Regions from separate parts of the Homo sapiens genome. Here regions 2, 3, 4, 5, 6 and 7 are each linked to region 1. The links are contacts of gene promoters, found by promoter capture Hi-C in blood cells and fetal thymus (Javierre and others, 2016). All regions are on one chromosome and are shown on one strand. Each heading gives the region's core, a stretch centred on a gene start or on the middle of the fragment in contact. The rest is flanking DNA. Distances are from core to core; before and after follow the strand shown. Region 1 holds the start of MAFB (MAF bZIP transcription factor B). Region 2 has its middle 180 kb from the start of LINC01370. Region 3 has its middle 190 kb from the start of LINC01370. Region 4 has its middle 230 kb from the start of LINC01370. Region 5 has its middle 260 kb from the start of LINC01370. Region 6 overlaps LOC105372617 (a long non-coding RNA gene). Region 7 has its middle 320 kb from the start of LINC01370.

Region 1 (2,781 bases), core at 82-2,581:
GGCTGTCGCTGGTGGAGCCCGCCTCCCTGAAGCCGGAGTTGGCGAGTTTCTCGCACTTGACCTTGTAGGCGTCTCTCTCGCGGGCCAGCCGGGACACCTCCTGCTTAAGCTGCTCCACCTGCTGAATGAGCTGCGTCTTCTCATTCTCCAGGTGGTGCTTCTGCTGGACGCGTTTATACCTGCAAGACTGGGCGTAGCCCCGGTTCTTCAGGGTCCGCCGCTTCTGCTTCAGGCGGATCACCTCGTCCTTGGTGAAGCCCCGCAGGTGGCGGTTCAGCTCGCGCACGGACATGGACACGAGCTGGTCGTCGGAGAAGCGGTCCTCCACGCTGCCGTTGCCGCCCGCCGCCGTCGCCGAGGCCGTCGCGTGCGGCCCGGGCCCGGGGTGGCTAGTGGGCAGCTGTTGCGCCGGGCTAGCGGCGCTGGACGGCGGCGGCGACGCTTGGTGATGATGGTGATGGTGCGGGTGAGCGTGCGGGCCCAGCTCGTCGTGGGCCACGCCGGCGCCCGGGTACGCGTGGTGCGGGTGAGGGTGGTGGTGATGGTGGTGGTGGTGAGCGCCGCGAAAGCTGTCGAAGCTTTGCAGCGGCTGTGGCACTGGGTGCGAGCCGATGAGCGCTTCCACCGCGTCCTCGGGCGTCAGGTTGAGCGCCTCGGGGTTCATCTGCTGGTAGTTGCTCGCCATCCAGTACAGATCCTCGAGGTGTGTCTTCTGTTCGGTCGGGCTGAAGCTGGGCGACGAGGGCACGGAGCTACACGGAGTGCTGAGCGGTGTGGAGGACACCGAGCCGGCTGGCTGCAGGCGTGTGCAGGGCCTGCCCGGACGCTCCGCGCGCCCCAGTGGCTCCTTCTTCACGTCGAACTTGAGCAGGTCGAAGTCGTTGACATACTCCATGGCCAGCGGGCTGGTGGGCAGCTCTGGCCCCATGCTCAGCTCCGCGGCCATCGCTGAAGCGAGGCGCAGCCGCCGCTGCCGCCCGGGAAACTTTGCGGCCGGCCGGAGCGCGCCGAGCCAAGCGCGGGGGGGAAGAGCGGAGAAGAGCTGGGGAGGCGGGGAGCGAGGGCGCAGCGGGCCGGGGCCGCCGGCCAAGCCTTTGTCTGGGGACGCGGCGGCGCGCCGGAGAGTCCCGAGGCTGCCTGCACCGCCCCAGAGCTCTGGGCTGTGCCCGCGCAGGGACCGGGCCGGGTAGAGTCGGGCGGGGTGGAGAGGCAAGCGGAGCGCGCGGTGGGGCTGAGGGGAGGCGTGGGGCGAGTGCCCGTTGCTCGCTCTCTAGCTCTCTTGCTCTTACGCTCTCTCGCTCGCAGCCGCTCGCAGCTCGGCGGTGCAGCTGTGCTGGATCCGGCGGCGCCGCAGCCTTTTATCGCCTCCTGATGTCACTGGGGTGCGGGGGCCCGGGCGGCCCGGTGCGCGGGCCAATAGCTGCACGGCCTCCGCGGCCCAGCGGCGCAGGGCGGGGCGCGCCTGACAGCTCCCCCGCCCCCCGCGTCAGCTGACTGGCGGCCCGAGCGGCCCCGGAGCGGCGGAGGCCTGGCGGAGCGCTGGAGCGGAGTGGGACGGCCAGCCTGGGCCCACCCCCGTACCCTGCAGGTCCCGGCCCACGCACGCTCGCCTGGAGTGCGCGCCCCACCTCTAGGCCAAATCACCGCTTTCCCCTCCTCGCGCACTCTCCTCCCTCAGTTCCCTTTGCACCCCACCCCCATCCCGTGTCACCCCCAAGGAGGCTCAGAATGAGCGCCGGGACAACGCCTCCTGGGCCCTTTGTTCCCAAGCGGCCCCCGCCCAGTGGGCGACGCTCTGTGTGTCCTCGCGGCTTCTGGCCGTGTGTGTCGTGCGTTCCTGTTTCTGGAGATCTGCGCGTATTTGTATGTTGGGGAGGGCGGGCTCGAGGCTCCGAGAGTTGTGTTCAGACCCAACTCTTAACCTCAGGGGACCTTTCTCAGGCCAAGCGAGGGCCCCTCCTGGCGGGTGCAGTCGCAGAGCCCTGAGGTTCGACTCCACTGGCCCCGCCGCTCCCCGCGTTCACCCCACCGCACAATGTTCACAGTGAAGGCGACGGGAAAAGCAGCAGCCCAAAGGCTCTGAATTCCTCTTCCCCGCCACACGCACGGAATCCTGAGCCCCCGGAGCCTCGGGGCCGAGGCCGGCCCGGGACGGTGCTCCGAGTAGCTCTCCACTGCTGGGGAGCCGGCCCTGTTTTTGTTTGAACGTTTTGTAACGATTAAGCAGATCCCGGCGTCAGCCCGCCGCGGAGAGGCTCAAACAGGCATAAAGTGCGACCCCAAGTGGCCACTGTGCGCAAAGGCGCCGCGACCGCCCGGCCCACGGCCGGAAGGCTTGGACGGCGCCTCGTACCCAGCCAGGTCTCCCCTACCTGGCCCAACCCAAGCCAGCCCAGAACGCATACTATGTGTGCACCAGAGCCCAGGACAGGTTCCCCTCGAGCGATGTACAGGTCCTCGGGTCCCGTCTTCGTACTCAGCCGCGAGCCTCGAGCCGCGAGCTCCGCTCTGGTCGCCCCGTTGAAATTCCGTGCCCCAGCGTTCGGGGGTGCCCGTCGGCTGCTCCCTGGGCCGGAAGGTCCTGGGCGGAGGAAGGCCGGTAGCCAAAAGTGGAAGCGCCACAGTGAAGCGGCCCAGGGCCACCGGGTGAGAAACCTCCCCGGAGGGCAGACGGGGAGACCGAAGCACACCGCACTAGGCATCCAGACTGGGCTTGGGAGCCGCGCACCCTCCCTACCCAGATCCAGGATGGCTAGAATTAACGGGTTCTTTCTGAGACCT
Region 2 (2,781 bases), core at 110-2,609, 510 kb before region 1:
TGTTCTAGTAGAGTTTCCTGGAAGCCAAACCTGGAGAATATGCAGTTTATATAATTTTTTTAAATGGATATTCAAGGAATCTCTTATTTGAACAGTTTAATCAAATGTCTTATCTTCCACAGAAATTGATGTTTGTAATTCTTACACACCATCAAGAGAATAACTCATCAATGTGTTGGCTGAGTAATTCAAATTATAATATAATTCACTTATATGTTAACAACTGTTAGATGCCAGGCACTGTTCTAGATGCTTTGCATGCATTGGGGTAAGCTAATGACTCTGAATTTCTTACATGTTGAGTTCGAAGTACCTGCGGATTTCCAGATAAAGATTAATTTGCTATTTTAGCACACACTAATTGTGAACCTAAAATGAGCCAGGCACTATTCTAGGCACTGGAGAAAAAGAGGTAAAAAGAATAAAAAGAGATGGTTCCTGTACTGTAAAAACATACAGTCTAGTAGGAAAGAGAGACCCAAAACTAATTGTAATAACATGGGGTAAGCTACACTATAATAATAAAAATGACAATGGTGATAACAATTATAAATGATGTAATTTATTTAGCACTTACTCTAAGATAGACATTTTATGTGAATGAGTTCATTAAATACTGTTAAAAACTCTGTGACGTCCATATTCATATTTCCAAATGTATAAATGGAGAAACTGAGGCTTAGATAAAATAAGCAACGCCACAAAATCCCTACTGATCAGTAACGGAACTTGGATCCATTTGACCCCAAGGCTTGTGCTCCCTATTGCCATCCTATATTACCCCACCATTCCCACCCCCTTTTGATTTTCCAGAGTTATGAATGCAGTACAATTAAGGTGCAGAGGATCTGGGAGCCAGACGAGTAGGAATAGAAAGGCTTCATAGGAGGGCAAAATCTGAATCAAGCCTTAAAAAAATAACTTGGCATTTGTGTTTGCTAAGCTGTGAAAGATGGGTACAGGTTGCAATGAAATAGTACGGTAAAGATTTGGGATCAAAAAAAAAAAGTCTGCTTCGTTTAAGAAACAGGGATTAGCGCAGATGGAATATAGGGTATGTTGAAAGAAATGAGAGAGATGTGACTAGAGAAACACATCAGAACCATGTCACCATTGTCGCAGAGGACCAGCTGCGTTAAAGACCTGTGATTTTATTTCATAGAGATGATCCATTGGCTCTTTTTTTTTTCTTTCTTTCTTTTTTCTTTTTGAGACGGAGTTTCGCTCTTGTCGCCCAGGCTAGAGTGCAATGGCGCGATCTCGGCTCACTGCAACCTCCGCCTCCCGAGTTCAAGTGATTCTCCTGCCTCAGCCTCCCACGTAGCTGAGATTACAGGCATGAACCACCACCACACCCGGCTAATTTTGTATTTTTAGTAGAGACTGGGTTTCTCCCTGTTGGTTAGGTTGGTCTGGAACTCCAGACCTCAGGTGATCCTCCCGCCTCCTCCTCCCAGAGTGCTGGGATTACAAGCGTGAGCCACCGCGCCTGGCCGAACCATTGGCTCTTTCTAAGCAGTGGAATAACAATGGTTCATAACATTTAGAAGATGGGGTTATACACTCACCAGATCTATTTCCCTAGAGCCTATTTCAGTATCTGATACAGGGTAGATTTTAATAACTGTTGTCAACTAATAAATATATATTTTTAAATACATTGTCAGCAATGTGGAAGATACACTGAAGAAGGAAAAGACTAGTGGCAAGATATAAGCCAGGTGGTAAAATCTAAAAGAAAAGTCAGTGATAGAAAAGAAGTTTGCTGAGAATGATGGTTTCCAGCTTCATCCATGTCCCATGTATACATATGTAACAAACCAGTACATTGTGCACATGTAGCCTAGAACTTAAAGTATAATAAATAAATATGTGTGTGTGTGTATATATATATATACACACACACACACACAAAGAAGTTGATATGGGAGAGACATTTGAGGTAGAATTGACAGGTCTTGGAGACAGCATGACTGTGTGGTCTCAGAGAGAGACACTAGTTGAGAACAACTCCCAAAATTCCTATTTGTGTGTGATCCTCCATGGGGGATACAGAAGGGGGAGTCTAGTCGGGGATTTTGAGTTCCAGTTGCCTTTGGAACATGACTGCACAGATCGCGGCCTGAAAGGAAGTGGCAGAGAAGAAAAATTCAAAATGGCTGCCAATAGTTTGCCCTCTGGAGGCCTCAGAGTTCCGGGGGCCATGGATGCATGGCCACGCAGGGTGAGCAATTGTGATGAGAGAACAGAAAGGAAATCCAAATAAGAGAACTCAAAGCAGAGATGAGCTAAAAATCAGCAACACGAACCATCACAAGTGGGTAGTTACGCTCGGCAGGAGATCCAGGCAAAGCGAGGGCAAACTTCTTAGCCTTTTCCTGTGGAAAATTTATAAAGCTCAGATTGGAGAAAACGTACTGATAGTTTTGAAGCTGGCATTTTAAGTTGGAATGTCTTCTCAAAGTAGCACATAACGGCACAATTCAATAACTCTGACCATTGTGGAAAAATGCCATGTGCCAACAGCGATTTTCCATAATTTTGTTCAGAAAATCTGAAAGAAATGCAAAAAATGGATTTGCAGCCCTGGCAGCAGGCAGAGAAACAGTAGCAGAGGGCTGCAGGCCAGTAATTGATGTTTCAAATATCACTGAGTGCTTTGCCTGTAATTTCAGGGGAGAATGATAATAATTAAAAGCACAAACTTACAAGTCATTTCTGAGGAGGAAAATGCTGAATGCACTTAAAGTGAAGGGGGTTTGTTGAAATGCTTAAGTTTTT
Region 3 (2,781 bases), core at 89-2,588, 490 kb before region 1:
AATCCTGGCATATGTTGTTATTTTGTTCGCTTGCTCAAAGGGTTTCCAAACTTTTGAACACCATGTGTTCATTCAAATGTACTGCTTTGGACTCCTCCTTCACTCTGATTTCAGCCACCTAGATGATTTTTATTATCTCTTTACTCTGCCACCTCCAAGGAAAAATTTTCCTTCTTTGTGTTCAAAGTCATCCAGATGTCAGTACTTTCTCTAATGGACTTTGCCTTCGTCCATCCCCAAGTCTCATACACAAAAAGCCATGTACACATTTGCGTGTACCAGCCTTGGTAGGTATCATCTAGTTGGAAGCAGCTCAGCAGGAAATATCCCCAGGCTTCCCTCAGGCTGCTTTTTTTTTCTCCTTTGGGGGTACCTAATTTCCATTGGTCCTTTGTTTATTGGCCTCTGGGTCATCCACTATTACCAACTTGAATTGAGACAATCTGCTGTGTAAAGGGTCTAATCCTTGTCTTTGCATTTACTCTTTTTTTTCCCCATCTAAGTATTTGAATACATAGGAACAGATGGAACTGTTTTTAGACACAGTTGCAGAATTTTTCCTTGCAGACACGCATCTACACATTCTGGTAAACTAGTTGGGTAACCTGCTTAACCCATTAAAAGCCTCTCTGACAGCCATTTTCCAACTGATCCAGAGCTAAGATGATTATAGTAAGGTCTGTCCCATGTGCACAGAGTTTTCTTACTTTCTCAAACAAAGCATTTTAGTTGAAGCTGTTCCACTGGCTTTTCTAATGCCAGCCCACAGGAAAGTTTCTCCCAACCACTATCCATAAATTCTATGCAACCACACCAGAGATGGCAGCTGCCCATTTCACAGCCACTCAAGCTAAATCTCTCCTTAATTCTTGTCTCCAAATATTGTCCTCAGTTCTTCTGGGGTTGGAGCTAGAAACATCACACATCCCCAAGGCAGCAACAACATTCGTGTTTACTTTAGAATACATTTTGATAAGCACCCAAGTGCTTCAGCGGAAACTGAAGGGTATTTGTGTGAGGTAGCAGATTGTGGGGAGGTTTTATGTCCCAGCACACTCTGGGGAAAATAAAAGAAAATAGCTTTCTTTCCTGGAAGAAAAGAAAAATAAAAAGAAAATAAAAAAGACTAAGAGCCAGTGCAGACACAAAAAGACAAGCTAAGGGAACCCCAACAACACAAATTCTGGAAAGAATGGCACCTCCCCTGTCCCCCACAAAAGGCTCAGACTCCAGAAAAACTGTGCTGATGATGTTGGAAAAGCTTATCGTGTTATTGGGAACTAACTTCCCTTTTTCTGTAGGAGGCAAAACCCAAGAAGTGTAAACGCAAAAAGTTTCTGCGCTTCTGAGTGGAGAAAGTTCCCCAAAATGAGTGTGAAAAGACTAGGAACAACTGAAAATTCCAGCCCACAGTTTCAAGCTTTCCAAAGCCTGTTTGCTTTGGCCAGCCTTTGCCATTCCTTTCTCTCTTTTTTCAGAAGTGTGAAATGGGTTGGTTGCTGGTATTTGTTCTGTGGTCTCTGCTAACTCTTCCATCTGTATAAACTTAGCTCTGCCAATCCAGCAGTTTAGCAGCACTTTCTCTTCAGCTAGCTCAAAAGGACACGAAGGTCCTATTAAGTGGCCCTTTCAAGACTTGCAAATAACTGTACCATGCTGTCTGATTGAAGGCATGAAGCTTATTTATGCTGTCCTTGCAAGGGCTGGCCTTCCTTTTAAGACTTGTAGCTAAACAGGATGAAGGCAAAGTTAATCCAAGTCTGGATTTGACCATTCCTCCCCAGTGTCAGGGAAGCAGCCGAGGTGGCTATAATATGCCTATAAGCCTGAGAAACTAGGCCCGGCACAGTGGCTCATGCCTGTAATCCCAGCACTTTGGGAGGCCTAGGCGGGTAGATCACTTGAGGTCAGGAGTTCGAGACCAGTCTGGCCAACATGGCGAAACCCCATCTAATACAAAAATTAGCTGGCCATGGTAGCGCACCTGTAATCCCAGTTACTCTGGAGGCTGAGGCATGAGAATCGCTTGAACCCGGGAGGTGGAGGTTGCAGTGAGCCAAGATTTCACCACTGCATTCCAGCCTAGGCGACAAAGTGAGTCTTTGTCAAAAACAAAAACAAAAACAAAAAAACAAAACAAAAACAAACAAACAAAATCTTAGAAACTTGAAGATAGGGCATGGTACTTAGTGGTGATGTCTTCCTCTTTTTCATGAACATATTTATTTGAGGATGAAGAGAGCCATGGGAGAATCTACATTCCCATGTTTTCCCACTTTCCTTCTATATTTATCTGTATTTGGGTTGACCCTCTTCAGCAAGCTACTGTCCTTCAAGAAGCAATAGGCTAACAGGGTGCCCACATGCTTTTATCTATTCTCAATGGAACAACCTAGACTATTTAATTAACTGTTTTTCACTAGTTGCTCTTACAAAGCAAAATATTGTCAAATATGAAAATTTGCCTTGGGTCAGAGACCGAATATGAGTAGAGCTGACGGTTTTTGCCAAGTCCAACAAGTATCTCTGTGAAGTGTAAACAGCTATTAATGAAGAGAGTAGCCACGGTTAAATAAACCAGGGGGTGGAGAACACATGGGCCAAGAGAAGAGCTATTTGTTGCACATTTCCTCTGTCTAAGGATGAATCCAGCCTAGTTGGGTCCTCAGTGGAAGGTAACAGAAATTTTAAAATGGACCAGAATAAATAGCCACAAAGAAGAAATGGTGCCCCACTGAGAACTAGAGCCCCATTGTCCACCATGGCATTAAAAAAGACCCC
Region 4 (2,781 bases), core at 97-2,596, 450 kb before region 1:
GCCTGAGGGATGCGGTGCCGGCCACTGACACCAACAACTCTGTTACACTTATTCTAGCTCAAGTTCTTTTTCCTCCTTCTTCACCATGACCTTGTGAGTTAGGAGATCAGTTTTCAACTTTCTAGCTGGAAAGGTTGAGGCTGTGAATTGTCAATGACTTGCCAGAAGGCACACAGTAAACAGTGCCCTTGGGACCTCTGTTTAGAGGAAGAGCTTCACATTTAGCTTGCTTTCTATTGTGACTCACTCTGTTCAACTAAGTTATGAACAAGCCTCGATGCACAAGGATGAAAGAAATCAGATTTGAGAAAGCCCAGTCTTCACCCATGGACAGCTGAGAAAGGCATGAGACAGGAATATTATAATTCATCTATAAGAAAGTGCTCATCTAAAGAAGAAAATGCTAGCCAGACTTCCTCTGAGACACAGCCAGGTAAGCAGGAAAACGTCATTGTCTTTAGAAACAGAGGAGAGCTTACAGTCTCTTAATATTTTTAATAACCTTTATATTTATACATTTATATATTGTAAACTTATATTTATAAGTTATAAATTAATATTTGTTATGAATTTATATCTATATATTATACATTTATAAATATATATTTTTTGATTTACATTCATTTATATTATCTTCACTACAGTAACTACATTCATTAAATATAAACTTTGACATCCTATCAGCCCTCAGAGGTCTGCTTGGAGTATTGGAGAAGACACTAGGTATTTTGTCTGCTTTTTAATCAGTGAATGGTCTCCAAATTAATATCTATGTATATGTATATATTTATATTAAATAAGAGTCATTTGGGGGATGGGCATCCTATGCATAATATTTGAGGATCTTCATCTCTTTTTCCTTCAAAGAATCTTCAGCAAATGTGCAAAAACAGATTGAGCAACCCATGATCCTGTAGGTTTCCAGTTTTGTCTTCACTCTCTGAACAGGGAAGGAAAAGACTTGAGGCAAGTCTCTAGATTTCAATCATCCAGGAAGCAATTCTGGGTGATAATAAGAGAGACTGGCAAAAAAGGGGGAAAGAGGGGAAATTACTGGCTTGGTCAAAGCTTGCAAAATGGCACCAGTGATTAAAACATCTTATGCTGTCCTCGGGCTGCAGAAGCTATCACTGACAAAAGAGCTCATACACACACACACAAAAGGAAAGAAATTAGCCATTAAGAAATATTTCAGCATAATGCAATTATTACAGCTGTATAATTGAATGGGGAAACCATTGATCTGTAGTAGAAAGGAAATTGCTCTTCTCATTGTGTTCCTATGAATATGTGAACATTAATCTCCATCTATAATCAACGTTCATTTCAAATCTGATTGCATGCTACTAAACACCCGTAGCTATGCTAACATTATGTTAATATGGTTCAACATCATAGCTCCCAGCTTCACAGCACAAATATTTTTCTTTGGCAATCAATAGTAATTTCAGCTGAGTGGATGGAAGTCACGTTTTAATGGTAATCTTTCCTCCAAGCCTCCAAGTGGAAACTCAGTTGGTGTCTTAACATGGCTGCAGCATGTTGCATATAATCAGATAAATTAACCTGAAAAGAAATAGAGAGAGAGGAAGGAAGGGAGGGGACATGGATCAGAAATAAGGAGGAAGCTTAGCAAAACTCTAGCTAATAGATGAAAGTGTACATTAGGTAGAAAAAGAGTGAGGATGAATGGGTAGATGGGACAGAGTGAATGTGTGTCGGAGGGGCATGCAGGAAGGGTTGTTAAGAAATGAGACTGTGTTCCTTCTGGCTATAAGTCAATGGGATGGGATGGAGCAGCCAGGATCCTGGGCAATTTGGATTTTGCCAAAGCAACCAAGATACATGAGGAAGGAATAGGAAACTTAACAAACATGGGTGGATGGCATACCGAGTCATCTCTGCTTGGAAGAGTTCACTCAGATATCTCCTCCTTCTCATATCCACACGTTCATTTACAGCAAACAATAGAAAATATAGAAAATTTTATAGATTTCTATATCTATAAAACATACAGATAATTTTGAAAGTGAAAAAAATTTATAAGGGAGAATCTTTTATTTTTAAGCATGGCTACTGCTGGACACCAAGAATATGAAGATGAACGAATGTCATCTCTGATCACTAAGAGTTGATGACCCAGAGTGGGAGAAGAAAGATAAACAACTCACAGTATCAACCCACATCTCCTGGGATCCTCCTCCTTCCCCTGGCCATAATAATCCTCTCCCTTCATATTTTTTTAAAAGAAGAGAGAGAAGAGGGAGAAGCATTTTGGTTACATTCATTCCTCAAGCACTTTTTTCAGCCCCAGAAACCTAAATGATGGAAATTCTCAGACACAATCATTGGCTCCATTCCCACATCCAAGGACAATGCCCTCCACAACCCCCGTTTTTTTACATACCTTGTCTAAGACTGAAATCAGAGGCTCCTTCTGTGATAAGAATCAAAGTTACAACCTTTATGTATGCAGGTTGTTTATAATAAGGCAAAGGAAAATAAAACCTAAGTATTCTCAGCCTCTTCACCTGCTCTTTCAAAGAAATCTGGAGTTGTCACTTCCCTTCACAGCTCCCCCAGCCCCTGGCGCTCTCCTTCCTGGCTCCTGTTTTGAAGATCAGGGGAAGAGAACATTCTCCTAAGGACAGCAGGGTATCCATTGATATAAGAAGGGAAATCCAGAGGTGAGGGGACAGTGAACCAATGATACAGCACAAGGAGGACCCTGCAGGACAAAAGACCATTAGTATTAAGTGTTTCCTTGTTTGAGGAGTTCAG
Region 5 (2,781 bases), core at 200-2,699, 420 kb before region 1:
TCAATTGGTTTAACCTCCAGTTCCTTAGGAGTCCTGGGCATACCTTCCTTACTTGAAATTACACGTAACCTTGGTTGGCACACAGTAGGTGCCCAATCCGCTGAAGAATTGATGAATGATGTTTCATTCAATACCTTGAATGCTGGCCTTCTCTGGATAAGGATTGGCTAAATTTTACATCCAGAGGTTAATGAAGCTGTCATTGAGAGTTGAGGTTCTGAGGAAGAAAGACTAAGGTCTGCTGGAAAGACACCTGGACCGTGAGAAGCCCAGGTGTGCAACTCTAGTTCTGAGCCTTAGAACCTTTGAACAAATCACTGAGTCTCAAGGTCCTCATCTTTAAAATATTCATGTTTGCCCTGCATAGTTTCTATTGAAATAATCAAATATGCTAAGGAATGAAAATTGCTGTACAGAAAAATGTCACTATTCCAAATGTAAAATTCTATACTCAGGAAGGGAGCAGTTATTGCCTTTTAGTAGGTGACACTAAAGTTGGTCATGCATTAAGAATCTGGAGTCAGAGCTGAATCTCAGCGACACCATTTACTAGTAGTGTGACCTTAGGTAAATAATGTAACTCTATGACCCACAGTTTCTACCTCTATAAAATGGGGGTAAGAATAGTATAAGCTTCTTGGAGATTAGGACAGAGGTAAAAATAAAGTATTTATCAAAATGCCTAGCACATAGTTACCATCAAAATGGTACTAATCATAATATTAATATTATGTGTACAACTTTTAATTTATGTATATCATGAGTTATGATATTTTAAACATAGCTCTTACTGACTCCCATGAGCCAATTGCATGCATGTCTTTTCAACTTTGTGTTCAGCAGCAATCACATTGGCAGCTTGAAAATGGCTGTAGTAGGAGTTATTTACACTACTACTATAGTTGTGTAGTATAATTGATAAATGCTACAAATCAGAATTGTTGTTTATTGTTGTTTTCATTTTCTTCCAGAGAATCAATTTATCAGTATCAACCAGGCGTGGTGGCTCCTGCCTGTAATCCCAGCGCTTTGGGAGGCCGGGGCAGGTGGATCACTTGAGGTCAGGAGTTTGAGACCAGCCTGGCCAACATGGCAAAACCCCGTCTCTACTAAAAATACAAAAATTAGCCGAGCGTAGTGGCGCATGCCTGTAATCCCAGCTACTTGGGAGGCTGAGGCAAAAGAATCACTGGAACCCAGGAGGCAGAGGTTGCAGCGAGCTGAGGTGGCACCACTGCACTCCAGCCTGGGCGACAGAGAGAGACTCCATCTAAAAAAAAAAAAAAAAAAAATTACCAGTATCCTTTTGGTTATGCATATTGAATGTGTCTTAGTTTAGGTCTCCTAGAAGCATTTCCTAAGCTGAGATTCATATGTAATTGAGCTATTGAAGGAGTGCCCCCAAATAAAACTTGCAAGTGTGTGAGGGAAGCCTTATAGGGCAGAGGAAGAAACCGGGCAAAGGTGAGGGTGCAGCTGAAGTCTAGTCTCAGCCTCATTCCACAGGCAGCTCTGGAGCCTGCGTGGAACCACAGAGTTCCCACCTTGAGGCAAGGGTGCCAAACTTTTCTGCCCTTGTGTTAGTTGGCCATTGGCTACTGACAGACTTCTGGAGAGAATGCAGCTTCCCAGGCCATTCTGGGTGGCACAGCTCCTGATAGCAAGTAATTCTCTGAAGGGTCCAGCTGTGAGTCAAGAACATCTAGCACTGATGAGACATGGATGCACCAGCCCAGCAAAGGGCAGCTGAGCAGGGCACCAACAGCACCTACTACAGTATGGAAACAGATTGTCATACTAGACATTTGAACTAGAATAGATTTGGGAAGTCACCTCTCCTATGTGTGTAATCCAATACAGAAGAGTTGCTTATTCAATCAGCAAATATTTATTTAGTGTAAACTACATTCCTAGTAATGGGATTGGTACTGGAGATGCAGGGCTGAATGCAATCAGATGTGGAGTCCCGGCACTGGAGGAGTTTACATTCCAGCTATGGAGACAGACATTAACCAAATGCTCCCACAAATAAACACACATTTACAACTGTGATGGTTACTGTGAAAGGGACAGGAAACATAGTACTCTTCTGTCAAGACAAGGGTTTGATAGACAGGGAGGCCCCAGAGAGCTTCCCTAAAAAAGTGACATCTGAACTGAGATCTGAAACATGAACTCACTAGGTGTGGGAGTAGGATGAACTAGAAGTGGGAGGAGCTGACAGTAGACAGGTAAGTGAACCTTCCCTTGGACTCATCTCCAGGACAAGCTTGCGTATGGAGATTTGTCCCTGAGGCCCAAGGAGTGGGATGGCTCCTGGAGACCACGGGGGTGGGGAAATGAGGAAGCAAGGAGAGTTATCTTTACTCTTCTGAGAACAGTACTTAGAAGGCAGGCCAACCCTTTTCTATTTCTACTAATATTCTAGAATTCTCTATTTTGAAAACAAGACTATTTTTATCCTCTGTCAGTCCTCTGAGCCCAAGCCAAGCCATCGCATCCCCTGTGACTTCCAGGTATATGACCAGATGGCCTGAAGTAACTAAAGAATCACAAAAGAAGTGAATATGCCCTGCCCCACCTTAACTGATGACATTCCACCACAAAAGAAGTGTAAATGGCCGGTCCTTGCCTTAAGTGATGACATTATCTTGTGAAAGTCCTTTTCCTGGCTCATCCTGGCTCAAAAACACCCCCACTGAGCACCTTGTGACCCCCACTCCTGCCCGCCAGAGAACAAACCCCCTTTGACTGTAATTTTCCTTTACCTACCCAAATCCT
Region 6 (2,781 bases), core at 120-2,619, 380 kb before region 1:
TTGGTCTGTCAGTAACCTCTGGGGCTGAAACAGAGGAAGAGAAATCATTGGAATCTTTGAAGCAGAAACAGCAACATCAAATGTTTCCTCTATGTCCTGTGAGTTGGCAAAACTGCAGGTGTAGAACCAAGGTATCCACATGATTATTTCAAATCCCCACATCTTCTTGACTTTTTAACAGAGCCTATTAATTGATACACTGAGATAATTGACACATTAGTAGGAGTCTCCCTGGCCACTTCCAGTGAACTAAGCAAACACATGGAAAGTCTGACCTAGCAGGTCTGTGGTCCACTGGGACTTGGGAGTCCTTCCTATTCCCAGCGTGCTGCTGAGACTATTGGGATTACATTCCCAGTCTTTGGCATTTCCATACATGAACAGATTCTGAATGAAGCCAAAATCAAGTACTAGAGGATTAAGTCCCGGAATTGCAATAATTTTGAATTCCATCCCCTCCATCTATTGACACACGGTTTCCAATAAGTCATACAACCCAGACTGCAGTGTCCAGCTCTTAAAATTTTAAAAACAAACAAAAACAGAAAAGCCTCTGTCTTGCTTTATCCATGGAATTTAACCATCTAGATAGAAGACCAAGTACACAAAGGTGCTTTGAGCATTGTAAAAATGTAACAAAAACATTCCACTTCCTTTTTAATATGCCATGCAATTCTTTCAAGGATATCGGAAAATAGAGGATGTAAAATGAGGAGGGGTAGTTGACATACACAGTCTCAAATGTTGCTTCCTCATCTGTAAAATGGGAGCAAGAGCAGTGCCACTTCATAAGGATGTTTTAAGATCTAGAACATAATGACAGGCATATGATGACGATTTTAAATTTGAGTCGTGTTTGCAAATGAAATCCAGAACATTCCCTGCTGCTCCAGCTGATCTTGGGAGGCATTCCAGTCTCTTTACTGCTCTCCTGAAACAGCGAGGCAAGGTCCTTCCCTGGATTCTGCAGTGTTTTAAAGAGAAATTTCAAACTTTCCCGGGAGGCTTTTCTAAAGGGATTATGTCAACTGAAGGGAATGAACAGGCAAGAAACAAGCAGCCATGCCACTTGACAAGATGAGGGTGGCTTCCTACCTTCAGCTCATTACACGTAGCCTGGGAGCCCCTTCCCAGTTCCCATCACACCTTCCCATCAGGGAGGCCATCTCGAAACCGTGAAATGCTGCTCTCCTCCAAAGGCATCAAGTCTCCTCAAAGTCTGAAACCAAAGTGGAAGGACTAGGAGGCTCCTTGCCAAGCCTCCTAAGATCACATTTTCTGGCTGAGTATGGCCTCCTCCCAGACATTTAACATTGGGCGTGCCTCCCTCTTTCAGGGAAGGTTGGGCCCACCCACAGGGACATAGATTTACCAAAGAGGCATAAATGAACAATGATCAACACTCTGCAGCACAGAACAGAGACACACACAATGGAAGAGTTGGAAAAAAATTGTTTCCCTAGAGAAGCACTCTATCTATGCAAATAGCTAGGACCACTATCCTTCTACCTAGGTATTTTTTATTTTCTCTGCAAGAGACAAAAGTGGCAGAAAATGCCTCCAAAGAAAGAAATCCTAAGCCTCAAGAAAAAAGATAAAAGGGAAGGAAGGGTGTTGGAATACAAAAGCTGGAAAAAGAGGTTGGCTTTTCAATTTGGGAGTAAACTATATTCATGGTCCTTAAGAGAGGATGGCCTGTCAGTGAGAAACAGGAGACTCTGGGAAGACAGAGGCATGGGAGAAAGATCGTTCCAAAATGTGTGAGAATTTCCTCTAACTTCGTTTTCTTCTCTCCCTAGCCAGCCTGCCTCCCGGTATATGCATATATGTATGTATATGTCTGTCTGTCTATGCTAAGGCAAGATGAAGGGAGAAAAGCCCTCCTGCCATGGGACTTTACCAGCGTCCTCGCATAGCATTCATAATAATAACCCCATCACTCATCAAAAGTGCTCTGCAGGCCAGGCCTCGCCGGGCCTGGGCAATGCTCTGATCCCGCAGCCAGCTCAGGCTATAATTGCAAACACCCTGCCCCCGGGAAGTGTCAGGTTATGTGAAGACACTTGGGCTTTGCTGGTGTCTGTAAAATGCAAGTTCAAGGGGACTTTTTAACATCAGAAGCAAAAATATGAGAGTCAAGAGACAGGTCCCTTGTGCCCTGCAGAAGATCACAGTAGAGATAAGAAGTGGGAGGCAATTGCTCTGAAGGTGGGAAAAATAATTTGAAGGCAGCAGAACAGACACAAGGTAATTACCGCTCAGACACAGCACAGGCAAAAAGGCCCTTGCTTTTAGGGAAACAAGAAGTGAACAGACCAAGCCAGGAGGAGAGGCCTGGCTCTTATGAGTTGGGTGAATTGTCAGTGTTTACTTCCTGATAGGAAGGCAGGGAGAGAGAGAAAATGACCCCCCAAAGGCCCTCTCAAACTTAACAAATTTGTGAGCCAAGTTAGGTATGAGTTTTTCTCAACTTTTCGATTCGGTTTTGGAAGGACAGTGTGCATGTGTAAGTGTGCGTGTGTGTGTGTGTGCATGTGTAAGTGTGTGTGGTAAGCTGGAAAGGTCATGAAAACATGAAGGAAAATGGTACAAGAAAGAGATATCAAAAATGCTACCTCCTATCTGATTCTAACTTTATGACATTCTGGAAAAGGTAAAACTATGGAGAGAGTAAAAGCATCAGTAGTTGCCAGAGGTTCAGGGACAGGGAGGGAAGGATGAATGGGTGAAGCTCAGAGGATTTTTAGAACGGTGAAACTCTTCTGTGTGATACTGTAATGC
Region 7 (2,781 bases), core at 176-2,675, 370 kb before region 1:
TGACTGCAAGCTCCATGAAGTTGGGGGCTGTCTGTTACTGACTAAATAACATTTTAATAAAAGTTTTAAATATTGCTTTTTAAATAAATTGAGAGACCCTTGCACACTAAGTGCAGTGCCAAGGTATACAATTGAGGAGAGAGAATGGGACAAAAAAGAAGCTGCCCTCTGAGGACTTAAAGCCTTCCTTTGTGGGAGACAAAAAACAAAGCCAAAATATAAGTAAATTAAAAGATAATTAATGTCTGTAACATGTCCTTACAAGGACAGAAACCAACAGGCTGAGATGAGAGAAACTGGAGGAAGTCACTTTAGGCAGGACCAGCTTTCAAAAGAGGCTCCATTCATGGAGGCCATCGCATAAGACACATGGATGACATGAGGAATGAAGATGAACCATCTTTCCCGAAAGTCAGGAAAAGAGAATTCCTTCAGGCAGAGGGAATAGCATACACAAAGATCCTGAGTCAGAGAAGAGCTTGGTGGGTTTTTGAGCTGAAAAGAAGTTTCTGTATCAGAGGGAAGCAAATGGCAGGGAGAGCCACGTCTGGTAAACACAAGGAATGAGACAAGGAGTAGGTCACAGAGCTCAGCAGAACAAAATCAGGTGTTTAGACTAGGTGTCAGCAAACGGTGGCTGTTTTTATAAATAGTGCCTATTTTTGTAAATAGTGTTTTATTAGAACACAGCCACACTCATTCATAGGCACATTGTCTATGGCTGCTTTCAAGGTGCCATGTCAGAATTGAATAGTTGCTACAGATACCTCATTGCCCACAAAACCTAAACTATGTTCTATCATGCCCTTTACAAAAAAAAAGAAGTTTGCTGGCCCTTGGTTTAGATTATGCAACAAGAAGTCAGTTTGAAGGGCTTTTAACTGAGGAGAGATGTGATCTGATTAGACACTCAGAACAGTGCCTGGCACACACCAGTTTCTCAAATGTGTTCCTTGAATGAATGAGTGGATGCTTAGATGAATAACGCTTCATTATCCACAACCATATAATATTATCCCCTCTGTTAGCACAAATAATCGGAGGGTTTACAGGACTGAGTGGGAGCCTCCCATCCATCCAGGCAGACTACGTTTTCCACAGTGCTAACAGCTGACGGATACTTAGAAAATTGAATGTTTTATGCAGCTTCAGATTGGAAATAGCAGTGTGGTTTTCACCACAGGGAACCCTCTTAATGTAAATCCAACCCAATTACACACACACAGGCAGGCGCCAAATTTGCAGCAAGACTGAGTTTCGCCCAGCAGCAAATGAAGCACAGCTCCAGAGAGGAAAGAGAGGTCTGTCAGCGAGGGTGTGGGAGCTGCAGAAGGCACCTCAACCCTAAGGGCCACTGCTGTGTGTGACTCATGTGTGGAGGGTGCTGGGTAGCTTAAAGAGCCTGAAAGAAAAAGGATGAAGTGGCTTATGCAAATGTACAGCAAGCTGCATTCTGCAATTGCAAAATCATGAATAGGGGAAATTGCTGGAAAATCAAAAGTAACTTTTGCCCCCAGAGGGTCCTTCCTTTGACCAGTTACAGAGATGACCAAAGCCTTAGAGAAAGAGACTGAGCTTTTAAAATAACAAATAATTGCAATGAGCTTTGTGAGATACGCGCAAGATTAGATATATGAAATAATGAGGTGGAGAGATCAAACACAAGAACTGGTTAAATTAAATATCTGCTTTGGGCCGGGCATGGTGACTCATGCCTGTAATCCTAGCATTTTGGGAGGCTGAGGTGGGAGGATCATAAGGCCAGAAGATCGAGACCATCCTGACCAACATGGTGAAATCCCGTCTCTAGTAAAATACAAAAAATTAGCCAGGCGTGGTGGCATGTGCCTGTAGTCCCAGCTACTCGGGAGGCTGAGGCAGGAGAATCACTTGAACCCAGGAGGCAGAGATTGCAGTGAGCCAAGATTGCACCACTGCACTCCAGCCTGGGCGACACAGCGAGTCTCCATCTCAACTAAAAAAAAAAAAATTCTGCTTTGTGGTCAGGGTCCCATATCACCACCAACCAACCATGTAGCCGCCCTATCGGGGTAATGCCTCTGAGCACTGGAGGGTCCTCCATTTAACACCCCCTCCCACAATATAGACATGGGGGCATTTGCCACCATTTGCTATGTATTCAGAGGTCCCCTGAAGTCCAAAATCAAGGTGTGGGCAGGACAATGCTTTCACTAAAGGTTCTCCAGAAAGATCCTTCCTTGTCTTTTTCTAGCTTCATTTTTTTTTTTAATTTTTTATTTCTAATTTTTGTGGATATTGAGTAGGTATATATATTTATGGGGTGTCTGAGATGTTTTCACACAGGCATGCAATGCGTAATAATCACATCATGAAAAATGGAGTATCCATCACCTCAAACATTTATCCTTTGTGTTACAAACAATTCAATTATACTCTTTTACTTACTTTAAAATGTACAATTAAGTTATTAGTGTCTATAGTTACGCTGTTGTGCTATCAGATATTAGATCTTATTTATTCTAACTGTTTTTGTACCTATTCTTTCCCTAGTTTCTAATAGGGGCAGCAATCCTTGGTATTCCTTGGTTTGCAACCACATCACTCCAACCTCTGTCTCCATTGTCATGCATTCTTCTCCCTGCAGATCTCTGTGTCCAAATCACCTCTTCTTGTAAGGATACCAGTCATTGGATTAGGGTTCACTCTAGTCCAGTATGATGTCCTCTGAACTTGAATACATCTGCAAAGACCCTATTTCCTAATTAAGTCATTTTCACAGGTGCCATAGGTTAAGATTTG

The links. The method cuts DNA at HindIII sites, captures the fragments that hold promoters and counts their contacts. A CHiCAGO score of 5 or more calls a contact.
Region 2: a contact is called between a fragment that was not itself captured here and the fragment with the promoter of MAFB in region 1, in 1 of 17 cell types (monocytes). The highest score is 6.7, in monocytes.
Region 3: a fragment that was not itself captured here is called in contact with the fragment with the promoter of MAFB in region 1 in 1 of 17 cell types (monocytes); the score reaches 6.4 in monocytes.
Region 4: a contact is called between a fragment that was not itself captured here and the fragment with the promoter of MAFB in region 1, in 1 of 17 cell types (monocytes). The highest score is 5.2, in monocytes.
Region 5: a contact is called between a fragment that was not itself captured here and the fragment with the promoter of MAFB in region 1, in 4 of 17 cell types (monocytes, M0 macrophages, neutrophils and 1 more). The highest score is 11.6, in monocytes.
Region 6: a contact is called between a fragment that was not itself captured here and the fragment with the promoter of MAFB in region 1, in 1 of 17 cell types (monocytes). The highest score is 6.9, in monocytes.
Region 7: a fragment that was not itself captured here is called in contact with the fragment with the promoter of MAFB in region 1 in 2 of 17 cell types (monocytes and M2 macrophages); the score reaches 7.9 in monocytes.

What each region holds. Positions count from the first base shown.
Region 1 is chr20:40,687,905-40,690,685 of GRCh38, forward strand. MAFB (MAF bZIP transcription factor B) reads right to left here and starts at 1,332. Exons shown (of 1, transcript NM_005461.5): 1 at 1-1,332. The coding sequence starts at 946. RefSeq lists silencers at 1,195-1,264, 1,285-1,594 and enhancers at 1,545-2,522, 2,523-2,781. The HindIII fragment of the contact is 7,144 bases long and covers 577-2,781 here.
Region 2 is chr20:40,179,307-40,182,087 of GRCh38, forward strand. No RefSeq gene overlaps it. Among named protein-coding and RNA genes, the nearest start is that of LINC01370, 180 kb to the left of the region's middle. The HindIII fragment of the contact is 8,234 bases long and covers 1-2,781 here.
Region 3 is chr20:40,196,459-40,199,239 of GRCh38, forward strand. No RefSeq gene overlaps it. Among named protein-coding and RNA genes, the nearest start is that of LINC01370, 190 kb to the left of the region's middle. The HindIII fragment of the contact is 159 bases long and covers 1,260-1,418 here.
Region 4 is chr20:40,233,421-40,236,201 of GRCh38, forward strand. No RefSeq gene overlaps it. Among named protein-coding and RNA genes, the nearest start is that of LINC01370, 230 kb to the left of the region's middle. The HindIII fragment of the contact is 560 bases long and covers 1,067-1,626 here.
Region 5 is chr20:40,266,589-40,269,369 of GRCh38, forward strand. No RefSeq gene overlaps it. Among named protein-coding and RNA genes, the nearest start is that of LINC01370, 260 kb to the left of the region's middle. RefSeq lists enhancers at 2,229-2,760, 2,761-2,781. The HindIII fragment of the contact is 1,636 bases long and covers 632-2,267 here.
Region 6 is chr20:40,306,137-40,308,917 of GRCh38, forward strand. LOC105372617 (a long non-coding RNA gene) reads right to left here. Exons shown (of 4, transcript XR_001754593.2): 2 at 1-24. Among named protein-coding and RNA genes, the nearest start is that of LINC01370, 300 kb to the left of the region's middle. The HindIII fragment of the contact is 7,580 bases long and covers 1-2,781 here.
Region 7 is chr20:40,322,305-40,325,085 of GRCh38, forward strand. No RefSeq gene overlaps it. Among named protein-coding and RNA genes, the nearest start is that of LINC01370, 320 kb to the left of the region's middle. The HindIII fragment of the contact is 8,564 bases long and covers 1-2,781 here.